5 separate regions of the Homo sapiens genome follow, and regions 1, 2, 4 and 5 are each linked to region 3. Evidence: promoter capture Hi-C in human tissues and cell types (Jung and others, 2019). All regions are on one chromosome and are shown on one strand. Each heading gives the region's core, a stretch centred on a gene start or on the middle of the fragment in contact. The rest is flanking DNA. Distances are from core to core; before and after follow the strand shown.

Region 1 (3,263 bases), core at 179-2,678, 1.1 Mb after region 3:
ATACCTCATCGTAGTTTGATTTGCATTTCTCTAATCAGTGATGTTGAGCGCCTTTTCATATGCCTGTTTTCCATTTGTATGTCTTTTGAGAAATATCTGTTCAAATCTTTGACTCATGTTTTAATAGCATTATTGGATTTTTTTCCTGTGGAGTTGTTTGAGCTCCTTATATATTCTGTATATTCATCCCTTGTCAGATGGGTAGTTTGCAAATATTTTTTATAATTTTGTGGGTTGTCTCTTCATTTTGTTGATTGTATCCTTTGCTGTGCAGAAGCTTTTTAACTTGATGTGTTTCCATTTGTCCATTTTTTCTTTGGTTGTCTGTGCTTGTGGGGTATTACTAAGAAATATTTGCCCAGACCAATGTCCTGGAGAGTTTCCCTAGTGTTTCCTTGTAGTAGTTTCATAGTCTGAGGTCTTAGATTTAAGTCCTTAATCCATCTTGATTTGATTTTTGTATATGGCAAGAGATAGGGGTCTAGTTTCTTTCTTTTGCATATGGATATCCAGTTTTTCCAGTACAACTTATTGAAGAGACTGTCTTTTCTCCAATATATGTTCTTGGTACCTTTACTGAAAATTAGTTCACTGTGAGTGTGAGGATGTGTTTCTGGGTTCTGTATTCCGTTCCATTGGTCTATGTGTCTGTTTTTATGCCAGTACCATGCTGTTTTGGTTACTGTAGCTCTGTACTGTAATTTGAAGTCAGGTAATATGATTCCTCCAGTTTAGTTCTTTTTGCTCAGGATACTTTTGGCTATTTTGGGTCCCCTGTGGTTCCACATAAATTCTAAAATTGTTTTTTTCTATTTCTGTGAAGATTGTCACTGGCATTTTGATAGGGATAGCATTGAATCTGTTGATTGCTTTGAATAGTATGGACATTTTAACAGTACTCATTTTCCCAGTCCATGAACATGGAATATCTTTCCTTTTTTTTTTTTTTTTTTTTTTTTTTTGCATCCTCTTCAGTTCTTTCATCAGCGTTTTATAGTTTTCACCATAGAGATCTTTCACTTCTTTGGTTAACTTAATTCCTAGGTATTTAATTTTATGTGTGGCTATTGTAAATGGGATTACTTTTTAAGTTTCTTTTTCAGATATTCACTTTTGGCATGTAGAAATGCTACTGATTTTTGTATGTTGATCTTGTATCCTGCAACTTTACTGAATTTATCAGCTCTAATAGTTTTTTGGTGTAGTCTCTAGGTTTTTCCAAACAAAAGTTCATATCATCTGCAAACAAGGATAATTTGACTTCTTCCTTTCCAATTTGGATACCTTTATTTCTTTCTATTGTCTGATTGCTCTAGCTAGGACTAACAGTACCATGTTGTATAATAGTGGTGAAAGTGAACGTTTGTTGTGTTCCATATCTTAAAGGAAAGTCTTTCAGTTTTTCCTCATTTAGTATGATACTAGCTGTGGGTCTTTCATGGCTTTTATTATGTTGAGGTGTGTTCCTTTTATACCAGTTTTTTGAGGGTTTTTGTCATAAAGGGATGTTGAATTTTATCAAATACATTTTCAGCATCAGTTGAAATGGTCATATGGTTTTTTTCATCAGCTCTGTTGATATGATGTATGACACTGGTTGATTTGCATATGTTGTACCATCCCTGGGATAAATCCCACTTGTTTATGATGAATGATCTTTTTAACATATTGTTGAATTCAGTTTGCTAGTATTTTGTCAAGGATTTATGCATCAGTATTCATCAGAGAATGAATATTGGCCTGTAGTTTTCTTTTTGTGATGTGTCTTTGGTTTTGATATCAACATGTGGATTCAAAAATCTGAGACAGGTCTCAGTTAATTTAGAAAGTTTTACCAGGCATGGTAGCTCACGCCTGTAATCTCAGCACTTTGGGAGGCTGAGGCGGGCGGGTCACTTGAGGCTAGGAGTTCGAGACCAGCCTGGCCAACATGGCAAAACCCCGTCTCTACTAAAAATACAAAAATCAGCCAGGTGTGGTGGCGCACGCCTGTAATCCCAACTACTTGGGGGGCTGAGGCAGGAGAATCACTTGAACCCAACTACTTGGGGAGTTGGGGAATCACTCCCAACTACTTGGGAGGCAGAAGCTGCAGTGAGCAGAGAGCGCACCACTGCACTCCAGCCTGGGCGAGAGAGCGAGACTCCATCTCAAAAAAAAAAAAAAAAAATTAGAAAGTTTATTTTGACAAATTTGAGGATGTGCCTCAGGAAGTTCTGACAACATGTGTCTGAAGGTGGTCAGAGCACAGTTTGGTTTTATACATTTTAGGGAGACTTGAGACATCAATCAACATATGTAAGATGAACATTGGTTCGGTCTGGAAAGGTGGGAAGACTGGAAGGAGGGAAGAGGCTTCCAGGTCATAGGTAGATAAGAGACAAATGGTTTCATTCTTTTGAGTTTGTGATTAGCCTCTCCAAAGGAGACAATCAATTATGCATTTATCTTAGTGAGGAGAGGGGACACTTTGAATAGAGTGGGAGGCAGGCTGGCCCTAAGCAGTTCCCAGCTTGACTTTTCCCCTTAGTTTAGTAATTTGGGGGCCCCAAGATTTATTTTCCTTTCACGGCTGTAATGCAATAAGTTTGGAAGTATTCCCTTCTCTATTTTGTAGAATAGTTTGAGTACGATTGATATTAGTTCTCCTTTAAATGTTTGGTAGAATTCAGCAGTGAAGCCTTCAGGTCCCAGGCTTTTCTTTACTGGGAGACTTTTTGTTATGGCTTTTATCTAGATACTTGTTATTGATCTATTCAGGTTTTCAGTTTCTTCATGGTTCAATCTTGGTGTAGGTTTATGTGTCTTAAGAATTTATCCATTTCCTCTAGATTTTCCAATTTATTGCCACATAGTTTCTCATAGTAGCCACTAATGATCCTTTGGATTTCTGTGGTATCTGTTGTAATGTTTCCATTTTCATCCCTGATTTTATTTATTTAGGTTTTCCCCCGTTTTTTCTTTGTTAGTCTGGCTAAAGGTTTGTCAATTTTGTTTATCTTTTCAAAAAACCATCTTTTTGTTTCATTGATCTTTCTATTTTCCTCACTTCAGTTTCATTTATTTCTGCTCTGATCTTTATTATTTCTTCTGTTGATTTATTCTACTGATTTATTATTTCTTCAACTGATTTGTTTTGCTCTTGCTTTTCTAGTTCTTTAAGGTGAATCATTAGGTTATTTGTTTGAAGTTTTCCTTTTTTTTTGATGTAGGCACTTAGAGCTGTAAATTTCTCTCTTAGTACTGCTTTCGCTGTATCTCAT
Region 2 (3,384 bases), core at 848-3,347, 1.2 Mb after region 3:
ACTTTAGAATATACAGTTTTCTGTATTTCTGTTGACTGATTCCTTTCTCCTGCTCTCTCCTGTTTCACTGGGTGTCAGCTGTAGTGTTGGTGTTATGAATTTGTTCATGAAGGTGACTAGCAATCTGTCTAGTTTACGTCCAAATCGAGACTAACCATTCTTTTAAAAGATAGGAGATGATGTTATGTTGGATTGCACCTGCTATGTTCTGAAAGATACTCTGTTTCTCTAGAATGCGGTTTTACTTTTATGTTTAGGCACATAACTTCTTGTACAAGTAAATGCTTATGCTGAATCATAAATAAAATACAACAAATAAACATAGAGCTGTTTGGGTTGAAAGGGTTCCATAGAATGTTCTGAATCATATCTCTAGAACTTACTGATTCAAAGCATAGAGAGAGAGCTTCAGGGGAAGTCGTGTTTTTGGAAACTTCTTTCTGCTGAGGTTCATAGGAGACAAATGTTCTGAAAGAACATTTTTATTAATGTGGATTGAAAGGAGATCACCTAGCTTTTGGAAATATTGTTCTTTGGGCACTGTCTGCTGTAGGACCTTCTCTCTTAGGCAGCAGACACAATCAAGGTATAAGCACTAAGCGACAGTAAAGATTAAAAATGAGGAGTCTTGAGAGAGAAATACAAATATTACCACTTTTTTTTTTTTTTTTTGAGTCGGAGTCTCACTTTGTTGCCCAGGCTGGAATGCAGTGGTGCAGTCTCGGCTCACTGCAGTCTCCACCTCCCGGGTTCAAGTGATTCTCCTGCCTCAGCCTCCCGAGTAGCTGGGACTACAGGTGCATGCCACCATGCCCAGCTAATTTTTTGTACTTTTAGCAGAGATGGGGTTTCACCATGTTGGCCAGACTGGTCTCGAACTCATGACCTCAGTTGATCCACCCACCCTGGCTTCCAAAAGTGCTGGGATTACAGGCATGAGCCACCGCGCCCAGCCTGCATGTTTCTGATTCTATCACATTAATCCAAATACTTCACTTCGTGTCCTTTTTGTGGGGGTGAAACTGAGTTCTAGAAGCCATGTGTATACCTTCAGCTATCATCTCTCTTCCCTTACCTCCATTTACCCAGCTTCTTAATTTGTTAATAAGTCCTAAGAGTGGAAGAGGAAATTTGATACTGAGCCTTAGCTCTTCCTGCTCTCTGTTGTTGTGAGGAGCGTGCCAGGACAGAGTGCGGGGTGTAAGCATCCTGCGGGTGACAGCCCCACAATTCCACACTCAACCAGAGTCCTCATCCCATTTTTTCCGTAACAATTAATGCCCCAGATTTGTATGCTATGATGATATCATTTTATGGTGTAATGCTATTATTATTCAAAATATGTGGCTTTTCTAAATTCACAGTACATATTCTTATCTGCCAGATATGGTCTAGGTCTCACTCTGTCTTAGGAAGGAAAGGAAGAGGTTCTTCTCCATGCATTTGTCATCTTGGCCCCCCGTGTCTGCAGCCCCATCCCCAGCCGGGCTCACTCTGCCCCATCTCCTCCACTCCCATGCACCTGCACGTTGTACTTTACCTTTTTCCAAATAGCATTTAGCCACTTTGATTTCCAATACTGATGACATCCTTCTTTTCTTCTCCCAGTCTGTTTTGAGCAGGATTATGTTATCAAAATGTCAGATTATACAATGTGAAATGAATACTTTACCTAACTGGAATTCAACCCTAAATCTGTTTGTGGTTGAAGCTTTTACCAAACAAACAAATCTCCGGCTCCTGAGAACTAATCCTGACACTGCTTAGTCATTTGAAGCCTTTGCTTATTTCTTTCTGCTTGTTTCCCCTTTGTCACAGGACTCTTTAATCCGAAAGCCTCATGTCCTGTGTGTACCCTGTTTCCGTCCTCCTCTTCTCCTCCATCCCTTTGCTCCAGTGGCTTTCTCAGCAGGGCTCAGCCAGAGGTTAGGTCGTTGGTGTTCATGCTCAGTGACTTAGGCAACCAGCCCCAGGACCTCAGCACAAAATTTGAGGAGGTACTTGAGCTCAAGGCCATGTGCGTGCTGCCCTTGTGTGTGTTCAAATGTCTTGGAGTAATAGAATAGTCCTGGATTATTGCAAGAGGTGACAAAGGTCTGGTACATCAGGAATACCGACTACTTAAAGTGAAAGAAAAGTGTTGTATCATTCTTTTAAAGGTAGCTAGTGGAATCCACATACCATCGAGTTTTGATTGCCACTGTCATTCTGTTAAATAAATACATGAGCAAGCTATTCTTCAGTCATTGAAAAGCTTATACTTCTATGTCTCCTTTAATTTGTATTTCCATTTTATCCTTCCTATAGGATAACTCAGTTAACTTCGTGTCCTTTTTGTAGGGGTGAAACTGAGTTCCAGAAGCCATGTGCATACCTTCAGCTATCATCTCTCTTCCATTAGCTCCATTTACCGAGTTAACTCAATTGTTTTAATCTCTGAGGGTCTTTTATCGATTACTTCATCATACTTCATTACTGCAGAAATATGTATAAAAATTAAAATTTAAAAAGCTATATTCTATAAGACTTTAGTACTAAAGGTTTCTTTGCATTGTTATAAATGTTAGTATTTGATTACAATTGTAAACATTATAAAATTTATGAAAATATTAACAAAGGTAAAATGTTATGAGTGAAAATTTTTTTCAATTGGTTTTAGATATCTGAGATGAATATCACTTGCTGCTAGAATGAGACAGGATCTTCAGTAACAGTTATGTTCTTGTTTTTGAATAGATGCCAGGATTGAGAGCTTTGCTCATATTAATAGACAGATGGGAGTAGGAGTTTTTTGGGTTTTTAAAAAAATGTCCAGTAATGTCATTCAGTTCTTTGACCCCCTTCTCCACTAGATGCCAAAAGTCAGATTATATTACAGAATTTTTGTGTGTGTGATTTATAAGCTAACAACTCAATTAGGACTCCCTTCAGTGTTACTAAAAACACAACTTTGAAAAACTCTAACTTGCACAAGGTTTTGTTACCTTTCATTAGTCATTGGCTTCTTGGCCTCTGGGAAATACACCAGAGAAGCTTTTCCCAAGCTCTCCGATCTCAATTCATTGAACTGTTTTTATCACTCAGTTGTACCTTGCAATACTGAGAAAGGGTTGAGAAAATTGGAATAATTTTCACTGAAGTAAACCTTTGCCAGTATGTTTTTGATAAAATGCTTTTATCTCACCATGAATCTTAAGATGTTTCCCACAAACTGAAGGTTTAGCTCATTCATTCCAGTACAGAATGTCTGCTACATAGCCATAGGGCCAGACCTCATGCCCAGACATATCACTGGGTCAGAGTAACTGTCAGAAGGGATGAGATATTATTTCTGGAATCAGATAAACATGTGATACCCTATATGCCACCATGACAACAGTGCTA
Region 3 (3,459 bases), core at 767-3,266:
CCTATCTGTATAGGTCAATATTTGACAGATTTAGGTTAAAATAGTTTTTATGTTTGTCTTTTGGGTGGTTGGTGCTTTAACCTCCCTTAAAATGCTATGCAGTACTATCCCAAACTGAAATATCAGGCTCTTGAGCCAGATCTAAATCTCTGAGCTAAGGGTTTTATTTATCTCTTAATAGAGGAAGGCAACAGAAATACTAACATTGGGAAATGAAAGAACAATTTTAGAGTAAAGCAAAGTAGACTACTTTGAGAAAGAAACAAAAAAAATCAACCCATATAGAAAACTTTAACAAATTAGGGTACGCGTTAGTATTACGTTAGCAATTTTTCACTTTCCAATAAAACCAGGATTAGATGCCATCAATATTTTAGATAATATCACACATAACTTGGGACCACACATACATGGCACCATAGTATTCTGCACACATATGGCTACCACACGAAAGGAAAGTCTTGTAAAAACTTGGTGTTTACACATTTTTCCCTTTCTGAATGATTTCTGTGAAAATGAATGTATAAGGTTATGTATAAAATCTAGAATCCTTAATGTACCAACACAGATTCTGCAACAAAAGTTGCTTTATTTCACAGTCATGCAAAGTTAAATTTGACTACAACTATGATTTCACTTTAGGAATTACTGCAGATGGATTGAAAACTCATTTAATTATAATGAAGATATTGAAAAAAAACATACTGTATTTGCAGCTATCCACATGAGGGTCCAGGCAGTTTACAGGTTAGACTGGAAAAAATACAACTTCCTTAAAGCTTTGATGTCTTTGCATGGTGGCTTAATAGATAGCTGTACCTTAATTTTACAGAACGGAGAATTTTTAAAATCTGATTAAGAACAATAGTATTTGTACAAAATTCTGCCTGTTTTGTGTAATTAACCGTATTCTGAATCTCTTAATTTCCACCAAGACTTGTGAATCTAAGCTCTACTTGGTAGCCCTCTCAGGCATTTATAACTTGACAAGCGTGTCCAATCAATAAATAGCAACAACAATAATAATACTAAAACATCCTTTCCCTTAAGATAAGGTAAAAGAAGGAAACAGGTGATGGTTTCTTGTTTTGCGATGGGAGCAGGTGAAAAGTTAGAAAACAAAACTGCGAAAAGAAACAAAAATTCCCACCGACCTGCAGACATTTCAATTTATTTTAGAAACTATTTTCTTGTACACATATTCTTAAGTGCATATTTCCTTACCTCTTGCTTAAAGAAAAAATCAACAGAAAGCTTTATTTTCTGGACAAAGATCTATGTCAATTTGAGAATGTTAAAAAAGTGAACTCAAAGCTGTCTCTTTTGAATCACATTATGACATTCGTCAGCATCAATGACTTTCTCTAAACGAGAAAATAAAAAAAAAGTCCAAATAACTTGCCTTTATAAAGATTCCAAGTAAGAGAGACTTGGCAGGTCTGCGGTTGCCATAAAAAAGATTTCCCGAGTCCGGGCAACAACAGCAGACACACTTTTTTAAAGTCCGACAATGCAAAAGCCAAGCAATGAATTTCCCCCCTCCTTTCTTTTTCTTTTTCTTTTTCTTTTTTTTTTTTTTTTTTTTTGCCCCCTCAAGAACAAATTGTTGCCTCCTTTTACATCCATCCTACCAGAAGGGGGACCTTTCCACTTTCAGATGCTCCTCTGCTTTAATTTCTGAAGAGGAAAAAAAGCGAGCAGAAGAGCCCCGAGATCCGCCGTGGAGCTCTAATAACGCAGCTGCGGCGGCGGCGACGGCGGCGGCGCGGGGTGTGCGAGCGGCCGGGCGGGCGGCGCGAGGGGCGGCGGCGCAGGAGCGGGCGGGGCGCGCGGCGCGTGGGAGGCGGCGGCGGCGGCGGCGGCGGCGGGCGGGGCTCGGGGCGCTCGGCCGCCGCCTGGCTCCGGATCCGCGCGCCGCGGCCGGCGCCTCCAGTCCGGGTCTTGGCGGGCCCCCTCCTCCCTCCCGCTCCCCGCGCTCTCGCCTTTTAATCATGCCCCTCTGTCTGTGTGTGAGTGCAGGCAGGCTGACAATGATTTCCTCAGTGATTACGTACAGAGCGAGTCCCTGCGGGTTAGGGGCCCCCTCTGGAGCCATCCTGATGGCTTTGGGGGCCTTGCTTCCATTTTCCATTATTATGTGGACTACCGGAGCGACAGCGCAGTCCAAGACCTTGCAGGTTTGTGATGAGGAGGGAGCACACAGCACACTCCTTCTCCTCCTCCTGCTCCCGGCTCTCCTCCTCCTCCTCCTCCTGCTCTCGCCGCCGCTGCCGCCGCCGCTGCCGCCGCTGCTGCCGCCGCCGCTGCCGAGGCAGCCGTAGACTTTAGAGCCCCGGTCCAGCGCCAGCCGCCGGCGCCGCGCCCCCGCCCAGAGAGGGGCGCCCCGAGCCCGGGCCCCGCACACCCCCTGCACACAAGCAGCCCCGCACACCACCTGGGGGCCGTCGGCTCGGGTGCTTTGGCTTTTTCTTTTTGAAAGAAATTACTTTAGTGTGGGTTAAGAAAAAAAGGGTGGGGGGAAGGGAGAAAAAAAGTATTTTTTTCCCTTTGCTTATTTTCGTGGCCCGTTCGCATCTGCCTCGGATGGTGGGAGATTTTTCTTTCCAAGACCTTTTCATCGCCTTGCAGGGTCGATTTCCCCCCCTCGTCCCCCCAACTACAAAAGAGCACGACTCGCTTTGTAAACAAATCAGTGTTATTTGTTTTTTTCCGGTGGGGGGGGGGGCGGATTTGTTGAAAAGGAAAAGCGGTAAAGAAAAAAAAAATCACCCAGACGCTTTTCTTTTTATTAGTTTTTTTCTATTCGCATGAACTATGTGAATTTTGATTGAGGTGGAAATAGTAACGGATTTTCTCTTTTTAGTGTAGCTGACGGCTCTTCAAACATTGTCTTTGGGGTTTTTTTTTTAGCTTTTTTTCCCTCCTTTCCTTTTTTCTTTTTCCTTTTTTTTTTTTTTTCTTGGAGATTGGGGGTGGGGGTCGAAGGCTGGGAAAGTTTGGTGCAGCAGCCGCCGCCGCCGCCGCCGCCGTCGTGCAGAGCGCGGAGCTCGGGCAGCCGCGAGCCCCGCGCGCGAGCGCGAGCCGGAGCCGGAGCGAGGAGCGGAGCGCGGAGCGAGGGCGCGAGGGAGGCCGAGCGGAGGGCGCGAGGCGCCGCGGCCCGAGGGGCGCGCGGCCACGAGGAAGTATAGTTTCTTTCAGGGCTGAATTGAAACAACTTCAGCTGTTTGCTTTTAGGATGTCTCGCCGCAAGCAAGCGAAACCGAGATCCCTCAAAGGTAAGGAGGAACCCCCTGCTCCCCGCTTTCCCCCATCCGCGAGTGTCACTGTGGGTAGCGGAGCGAGGGCTGCGTGGCTGCGAGGCGTGTGCGCGCGTGAGTGTGAGTGTGAGTGCGGGGGCGCGCGCGCTCCCCTCCCCGCTGAGCCCCTAGGTGGAGTGAGGGTGAGGTGTCGGGGTGGGGG
Region 4 (3,540 bases), core at 185-2,684, 1.8 Mb before region 3:
TTCAAGTTCTAAGTTCCACTGTTTTACCCCTCACAAGTACAAGATATAAATATCTAATAGATACTTTCCTTCTTTTCTAAATATTAGGAGATAATTTAAAAACATTTTTATTACAAGAGGGGAAAAAGACTTTTAAATAGACCAAATATCCAAATGTTATTTAGAATAGCTATATGTAGACATAGATTCAGATGTAAATAACTAGCTAAATAAAAGCATAAGCTTAATAATACTAAGCTGAATTGGTTTCATTATCAGCTCACTTTAAGTATTAACATTAGAAATAATATTTGTAGCACACTGCTAATATTATACTTATTTTATGATGCTACTGAGTATAAATTTTCTTTTACACTAATTTTTCATCACAGGTATTAGTCTTCAAAAATCATTATTTACCTTTATTTGAAAAAAAATCCTCCCATTAAGGACAACACATTTTGAACAGTCAACAAAATCCCTTCCCTCAAAAAGGCTAAGTCAGTCACCATGCTCTGTGTCCCTCTGGGCTGAAATGATATTAGATTTAGTGAGGTGAGCCGTATATCACAAGTACTCCCAGTGCTGGACGAGGAAATATTTCATTGCATGGGATTGGAGGTGGATTTAGAATTACTCTGTGCCCTCAAATTCTATATTTTTTCTTAGGATACATCATTGACATATTCTCTATTTCATCAAATTTCTTACCAGCTTGCCTGTTGCCTGCATTCTCTCTCTCTTTCAAGTACACGTACACACACACACACACACACACACACACACACGCACATGCACACCATTGATAGAAATCACAAAGCCATTTTTTCTTTTTCCTTTTATTCACTCCCAGCAGATCTTTCTTTTTCCTGTAAGCTTACCACTTCTAAATTTAATATGTGTTTTGAGCTCATTATTTAAAGGAATCACATCTTGCTAATCACATCCAAGGCACCGGAACATAGTGTCTATACTGACTGAACAGGCCAAGCTTCGTGAGTTAATTAATAAAATATTTGGTAAGAAACGGTCCATCATTATCTTATCACTTGAGATGACAATGTTGAAACTTACAGGATGGAAGGCATCTCATTAATTCAGACCATTTCAAATCAATTTTATTTTGACTTACAGTCTTGAAATAACATATCATTATCTTTGGCCATATCAAAAACTGAACCCAGTTGGAAAATATTTATATGTCCAAATATTGGTTTAGAGGAAAGTATAGCATTTTTTTGGTAAATTGTTCACACAGAATTTTCCCTATTCCAACCACCTATCAAAAACCATCAAAGATATAAAATATAATTTCTTTCTACAGAAGCACATTTATATTTCCACATTTTATCTATTTCCAATTTAGGTTTTGCTATATATAAACATTATCTTATAAAAGATTTCATTGTTTAGGATTTAGAGGTAACTGTTAGGAAAGGTTTTGTTTTATATTGTTTCAAAAGGAAATTTATACTTGCTTAGTTTAAGAAATTACATGCATAACTTCCCAAGCAACTTTGATTTTCCTAAAATAACTGCAAGCATTTCTTATTCAATCAACCAATCAATATATATTTATTGACCTGCTCTATTTACCAAGACTATTAGGTGCTGACCATTCTAAGTTATTTGACCTTGAATTATTGCTTTACTGGGGCAGCTGATATATAATAATAATGGCAACACATCTTGTTTCATTTTTATTTACTTACAATTATCTCTTAGTTTTTCTGTTTTACCAATATTATTTTTCATACAATTTAAAATTTATAATTCTTTAGGAGTCATAGTTCTTCCTCATTTACTATTAATCCTATGCTCTTTCCATAAGGCATTTTTCCTTTTGCATTCTGCTTTTTCTCCCCAATATTCTTCTGAACACTTAATTTGTGCTTTAGTTATAGATATTTGGTCCTTGATTTGTTCTTGATTTTTAAGAAAATAATTCCTTCCTTAAAAAAGGTTAGAGACAGAGTCAAATCTTTTTTTAATTATGTCTTCGTCACACAATAATTTTGATCAACCCCAAATCATAAAATTTGCTATACCATGCTTGCTATGGCAGGAGGTAAATCATTATGTTTCCAGATCTCTCCTTGACTGGAAAATCTTAATGCTTTCTCCTTTTTCCTGTTTATTCCTGATGTTACAATGATTTCTTCTTAAATTTTAGAAAGGAATTTCTACTTTGTACAATGCCACATTCTGTATCCTATAGATCGACTTCTGGTAATCAGGCCTTTGTTTCTCTCTTGTATTCACATTTTTTTATTGTCAATTTCTTCTACTGAAGAAATCAGCCTTTTATTTCCTGATTAGAATTCACTTTAAATGTCACTACACAGATAAATCAATATGTGAAGGTGAAAATGACTTGAAGAGCTTTGTCAAGGTAAGTGTTCTATATCAGACGTTATGGGATTTTTGAAACCAGAAGGATCCTTAGGGCTTATGGAGTTCAATGACCTCATGCACTGCAGATGAGGAAACTGAGCCCAGGAAGAGAAGACTTGCCCAACTTAACGTGAACAAATCCTGTTCTCCAAGACTCTTTCTATTTCATAGCACTAATGCAAGGAAGCTTTCTAAAAGTGATTTTAAATTTTTAATAGTTGTTTTTATTTTTCTTCCCAGCAATATCTGGATACGGTGGGTTTTATCTTCTCTTTCAAGAGTTCTATTACTCTTTTCTTCTGGTTCAGTGGGCCGGCTTGTGTTCACTTGACCAGGAATCAACATAAATCGCATTCTATCATTTTTTTCTAGTTTTACTCGTATGCTGCAAAATAAAAGCAAGATAAGATAAAGGGAAACTACTGTAGCTACTGGACTATCCTCTATTGACTTGTGTAAAAATATCTCTTCCCAGATAAATAAAACCCTGCTTTCCCTCAAAAAATAGTTGGAGGCATAAATAAGAAGGTTCAGAGGTATTTGCAACACCCACATGACCTGGCATATTGTGCTAAATGCATTTCTGCTGAATTTTGACTTTGGCCATTAATTAAGCCAAGTCATCATTAACACCGGCATAATTAGAGAAAAGCATAAACTCAAAAATAGCAAGAAGTATCCCTTAGCAGTGTCATGCTGATACCTTAAATTAGTTTTGTTTTGTTTTGTTTTGTTTTTGTTTGTTTGTTTGTTTTTGGTACATAAGGAAACCAGGAAAATATCCTTTCTTACTCTTTTCCTACCTCTCTACCCCAGGTCACCTTACACACATTTTTCATCTCTATGAGCAGCTCACTGAAGTCATTCTTTATACTACTAGTTATACTTTCAAAGTTAAGTTTAACTTTATTGTTGTGCTTAGCCTAGCGGTATCAGCATTGTATGCCTTTTCCAAATAAACCTGAGAATGATGAAGTCTTCCTTCTATGAAGGCACTTTTGCTATTGAATGTACCTTGAGATTTGATGCAGAAACCACGTTTATGGACCATAATTGTTACCAACCTATTCATTAAAGGATCAACAATACATAAGCTTCACACTTGCCCAGAAACAGTCAATAGTTAAACATTTTAAGAAATTGAAAGAACTAAACAAAATTAATAGA
Region 5 (3,171 bases), core at 603-3,102, 1.1 Mb after region 3:
TTCAAGTTATAGTTTTATGGAGTAGTTTTTAGAAGGTTAGTTGATTTTTATGTGCAAACATTTTTTCCCTGTTTTGAAAAGAGAGTACTGATTTTCATTGAAGCATTTATATAATTCCAATCTGATATGAAAGTCCATTTTGTTTATTTATTTTTTGAGACAGAGTCTTGCTCTGTCACCCAGGCTGGAGTGCAGTGGCGCGATCTTGGCTCACTGCAGCCTCTGCCTCCTGGGTTCAAGTGATTCTCTTGCCTCAGCCTCCTGGGTAGCTGGGATTACAGGCACACGCCATGATGGCCGGCTAATTTTTGTATTTGTAGTGGAGATGGGGTTTCACCATGTTAGCCAGGCTGGTCTCGAATTCCTGACCTCAGGTGATCTGCACGCCTCGGCCTCCCAAAGTGCTGGGATTACAGGTATCAACCACCGCGCCCAGCCTTGAAAGTCCATTTTAAAATGGACTTCAATCATTTAGGTTAGATCAGGTCTTTCATGTATATAGTCATTATGTATTGCATTTTTTTACACCACAAAAGATAAATCATCCCATTTTGTTATTTTCTGTATTTTCTCTGATCTTTAGCTTTGTCACTAGATTTTGTAGTTTTTGGACTATTTAGTCTCTCTCCTGTTTGTGTTTAATTATTAAAAAAAGCCACATACATATTCAAGGTAGCACCATTACCAGAAGGGTAAGGATGGGGAAATAAAATGCCTTCATCCAGTTTTTTTCTTTTAAATACTTGTCCCAAATGATGGAAATATTTCAGTTAAATGTTGAAAAACAGGCAAAATATATTTTCTTGTGCCACAAGTAAAAAACAAAATGTAGTTAAAAATTACTTATTTCTCAATCTGCCCTAATCAACCAACCTATAGTAATATAAATGAAAAAGTTTTCATTTCACATTTTTAAACTAAAGGACCATAATTCTTTTAAGGTAAAATATAATAAGTGAAGCCATTTGGATTCAGATTATATTTTATATTAAAAGAATTATGGTAGCAAGATGTGGAATAAGATATTTTATTAGTTTCCTTATTCATTTAATAAATATTTGAGAGGTTTTATTTTGGCAAAGCTTGGTGTTTGGATGGGGGTAAGGAGGTTTAGAGTTTACAGAGGGTCACAGAGAGACAACATACATTCAATGCCTCATGCCCCTATAACAAGTGGGTGTGGCCGCTGTTGGAGTCCAGGAGCAGCTGCTGTCATGTCCCATGGTGATATTTTGTCGTCGTTGTTGTTTTTAGAGACAGGGTCTTTCTCTGTCGCACAGGCTGAAGTGCAGTGGTGTGGTCATAGCTCATTGCAACCTTGAACTCAAGTGATCCTCCTGCCTTGGCCTCCCAAAGTGTTGGCATTACAGGCATGAGCCACTGCACCCATTCTCCACAGTGATATTTAAGGAAGGCTTCCTGGGGGAGGATGGCATTTGAACTAGGCCTTGAAAGAAAATAGTTTTTTTTGTCAAGTAGGGAAACTTCTGAATATGGATAATTATTGTTTCCAATATTCAAGTAACATGTCAATATTCAGCATTCAACATCCAATATTCACCAATATTTTGAAGACTGTTTTTAGGTAAACAAACATTTCCAGGAGAACAATCTGGCTGAAACAAATTTAGTTTATTGAGCATCTTAAATGTTAGGCTAAGGAAATGTGGACTTTTTTTTTTTTACACTAGGATAACAGTGGAGGTTGTCTGTACAAGGGATTAATTTGTTCACATAAAGAAACAAGTGTTTTCCCACTATTTTAAAAACTTACCCAATTAAAAATTGTTCAGCGTAATCATGAAAAATGACAGATTGTGAGCTTTTTATGTCTCTAAAGTTAAGCTTTTCCAATATGATCTTCTCACAGCTTTCATGACTTTAAAAACGTTTTTAGTACGAAAAATAACTTTTTTCCTGAAAATCAACAGCATCAGATTCTTACAGCAGGCCAAATAAGGCAACATACTGGCCTTTTTGCGTTTATTCATGACAGTTTAGTCTCTAAATATTAACCAGCTAAAACGTATTTGCAGTGATTCCCAGTTGGTCACTTTTCTAGAAGCTTAGCAATTTTAATTTTTTTTTTATGTAACATTATGTAAACATAATTCTATAAGAAGCATGCCAGTGTGAGTTGAATGGACCCTGATGTGCTACACTGCAGTGTGGCATACGGCAAGGTTCGGCAATTCTTAAACTGTTCCGCTGTGGAAGTTCATTTCAAAAATCTTGTTTTAACATTAGCTTGTCAAAGAAATGAAGTAACATTTGACTCTTTTGGACAAAAGAATTCGACGCTCTCTCAATGGTGGATTCTTATGAAAACTTCTTTATATATATATATACACACACATATATATATATTTGGAATATTTTTTGAAACCTTGCAGAACCAGTATTTTCAAACACTTGTAAGTATTCCTAAGCATGTATTTGGACCATTAATGTTGCTTCATGGTAACAAGTATCTAAAGTTTATGAAATATCTAAAACAGACAAAAACAGGATGATTAAGCTTATGATGGTATTAATAAAAGAACTATATCTATGAATGGTTATGCTTCTATCTTCCTGCCATTTATGCCCTGAAAGTGGAAAATTACTAGATTACTCAGAAAATTTATGGAAGGGATAGGCTGTGTCTGTTTCTCCTGGTACATCTCCTCAGTCCTCGGTCCACAGTTCGTGTTGAGACATCTGTTCAGGCACTATTTAAGTCATATGGCACCTAGCATATGGTAGTCTCTTTTGCTATTTAGCAACTAAGTAGAGAATAAATCTTCACAATGTGTATCAGAGGTTCAAAATGAAAAATAAAGTCTGTAAAGTCAAATTTGTTTTAGAATATGGTAGTTTTCAATTAGTTGGGCTTTATTAAAGAAGCTAACAAGAGAAAACTATTCTGTAAGATGTATTTTGTAAGATGTAAACTGTGGTAAAATATAATTTGGCCTTCATATCCATATGTGTGTGTGTGTGTGTCTGTGTGTGTGTGTATATATATACATATATATATATATATATATATTTTTTTTTTTTTTTTTTGAGATGGAGTCTTGCTCTGTCTCCCAGGCTGGAGTGCTGTGGTGCCATCTCCGCTTACTGCAACCTCCACGTCCCAGGTTGAAGTGATTCTCCTGCCTCAGTCTCCCGAGTAGCTGGGATTAC

Evidence for each region. The method cuts DNA at HindIII sites, captures the fragments that hold promoters and counts their contacts. A contact is called where the count stands out against the background at its distance.
Region 1: a fragment that was not itself captured here is called in contact with the fragment with the promoter of ZNF521 in region 3 in 1 of the 25 tissues and cell types used here (dorsolateral prefrontal cortex).
Region 2: a contact is called between a fragment that was not itself captured here and the fragment with the promoter of ZNF521 in region 3, in 1 of the 25 tissues and cell types used here (hippocampus).
Region 4: a fragment that was not itself captured here is called in contact with the fragment with the promoter of ZNF521 in region 3 in 1 of the 25 tissues and cell types used here (aorta).
Region 5: a fragment that was not itself captured here is called in contact with the fragment with the promoter of ZNF521 in region 3 in 1 of the 25 tissues and cell types used here (dorsolateral prefrontal cortex).

What each region holds. Positions count from the first base shown.
Region 1 is chr18:24,254,664-24,257,926 of GRCh38, reverse strand. The region is part of intron 15 of OSBPL1A (oxysterol binding protein like 1A); the gene reads left to right. Among named protein-coding and RNA genes, the nearest start is that of MIR320C2, 65 kb to the left of the region's middle. The HindIII fragment of the contact is 5,578 bases long and covers 1-3,263 here.
Region 2 is chr18:24,190,776-24,194,159 of GRCh38, reverse strand. All of the region lies in intron 18 of OSBPL1A (oxysterol binding protein like 1A), which reads left to right. Among named protein-coding and RNA genes, the nearest start is that of CABYR, 53 kb to the right of the region's middle. The HindIII fragment of the contact is 4,946 bases long and covers 1-3,384 here.
Region 3 is chr18:25,350,723-25,354,181 of GRCh38, reverse strand. It overlaps ZNF521 (zinc finger protein 521), which reads left to right and starts at 2,016. Exons shown (of 8, transcript NM_015461.3): 1 at 2,016-2,177; 2 at 3,235-3,275. The coding sequence starts at 3,236. RefSeq lists a silencer at 1,921-1,990. The HindIII fragment of the contact is 6,455 bases long and covers 1,018-3,459 here.
Region 4 is chr18:27,187,961-27,191,500 of GRCh38, reverse strand. No RefSeq gene overlaps it. Among named protein-coding and RNA genes, the nearest start is that of CHST9, 4.4 kb to the right of the region's middle. The HindIII fragment of the contact is 3,160 bases long and covers 1-3,014 here.
Region 5 is chr18:24,283,142-24,286,312 of GRCh38, reverse strand. All of the region lies in intron 14 of OSBPL1A (oxysterol binding protein like 1A), which reads left to right. Among named protein-coding and RNA genes, the nearest start is that of MIR320C2, 37 kb to the left of the region's middle. The HindIII fragment of the contact is 4,224 bases long and covers 1-3,171 here.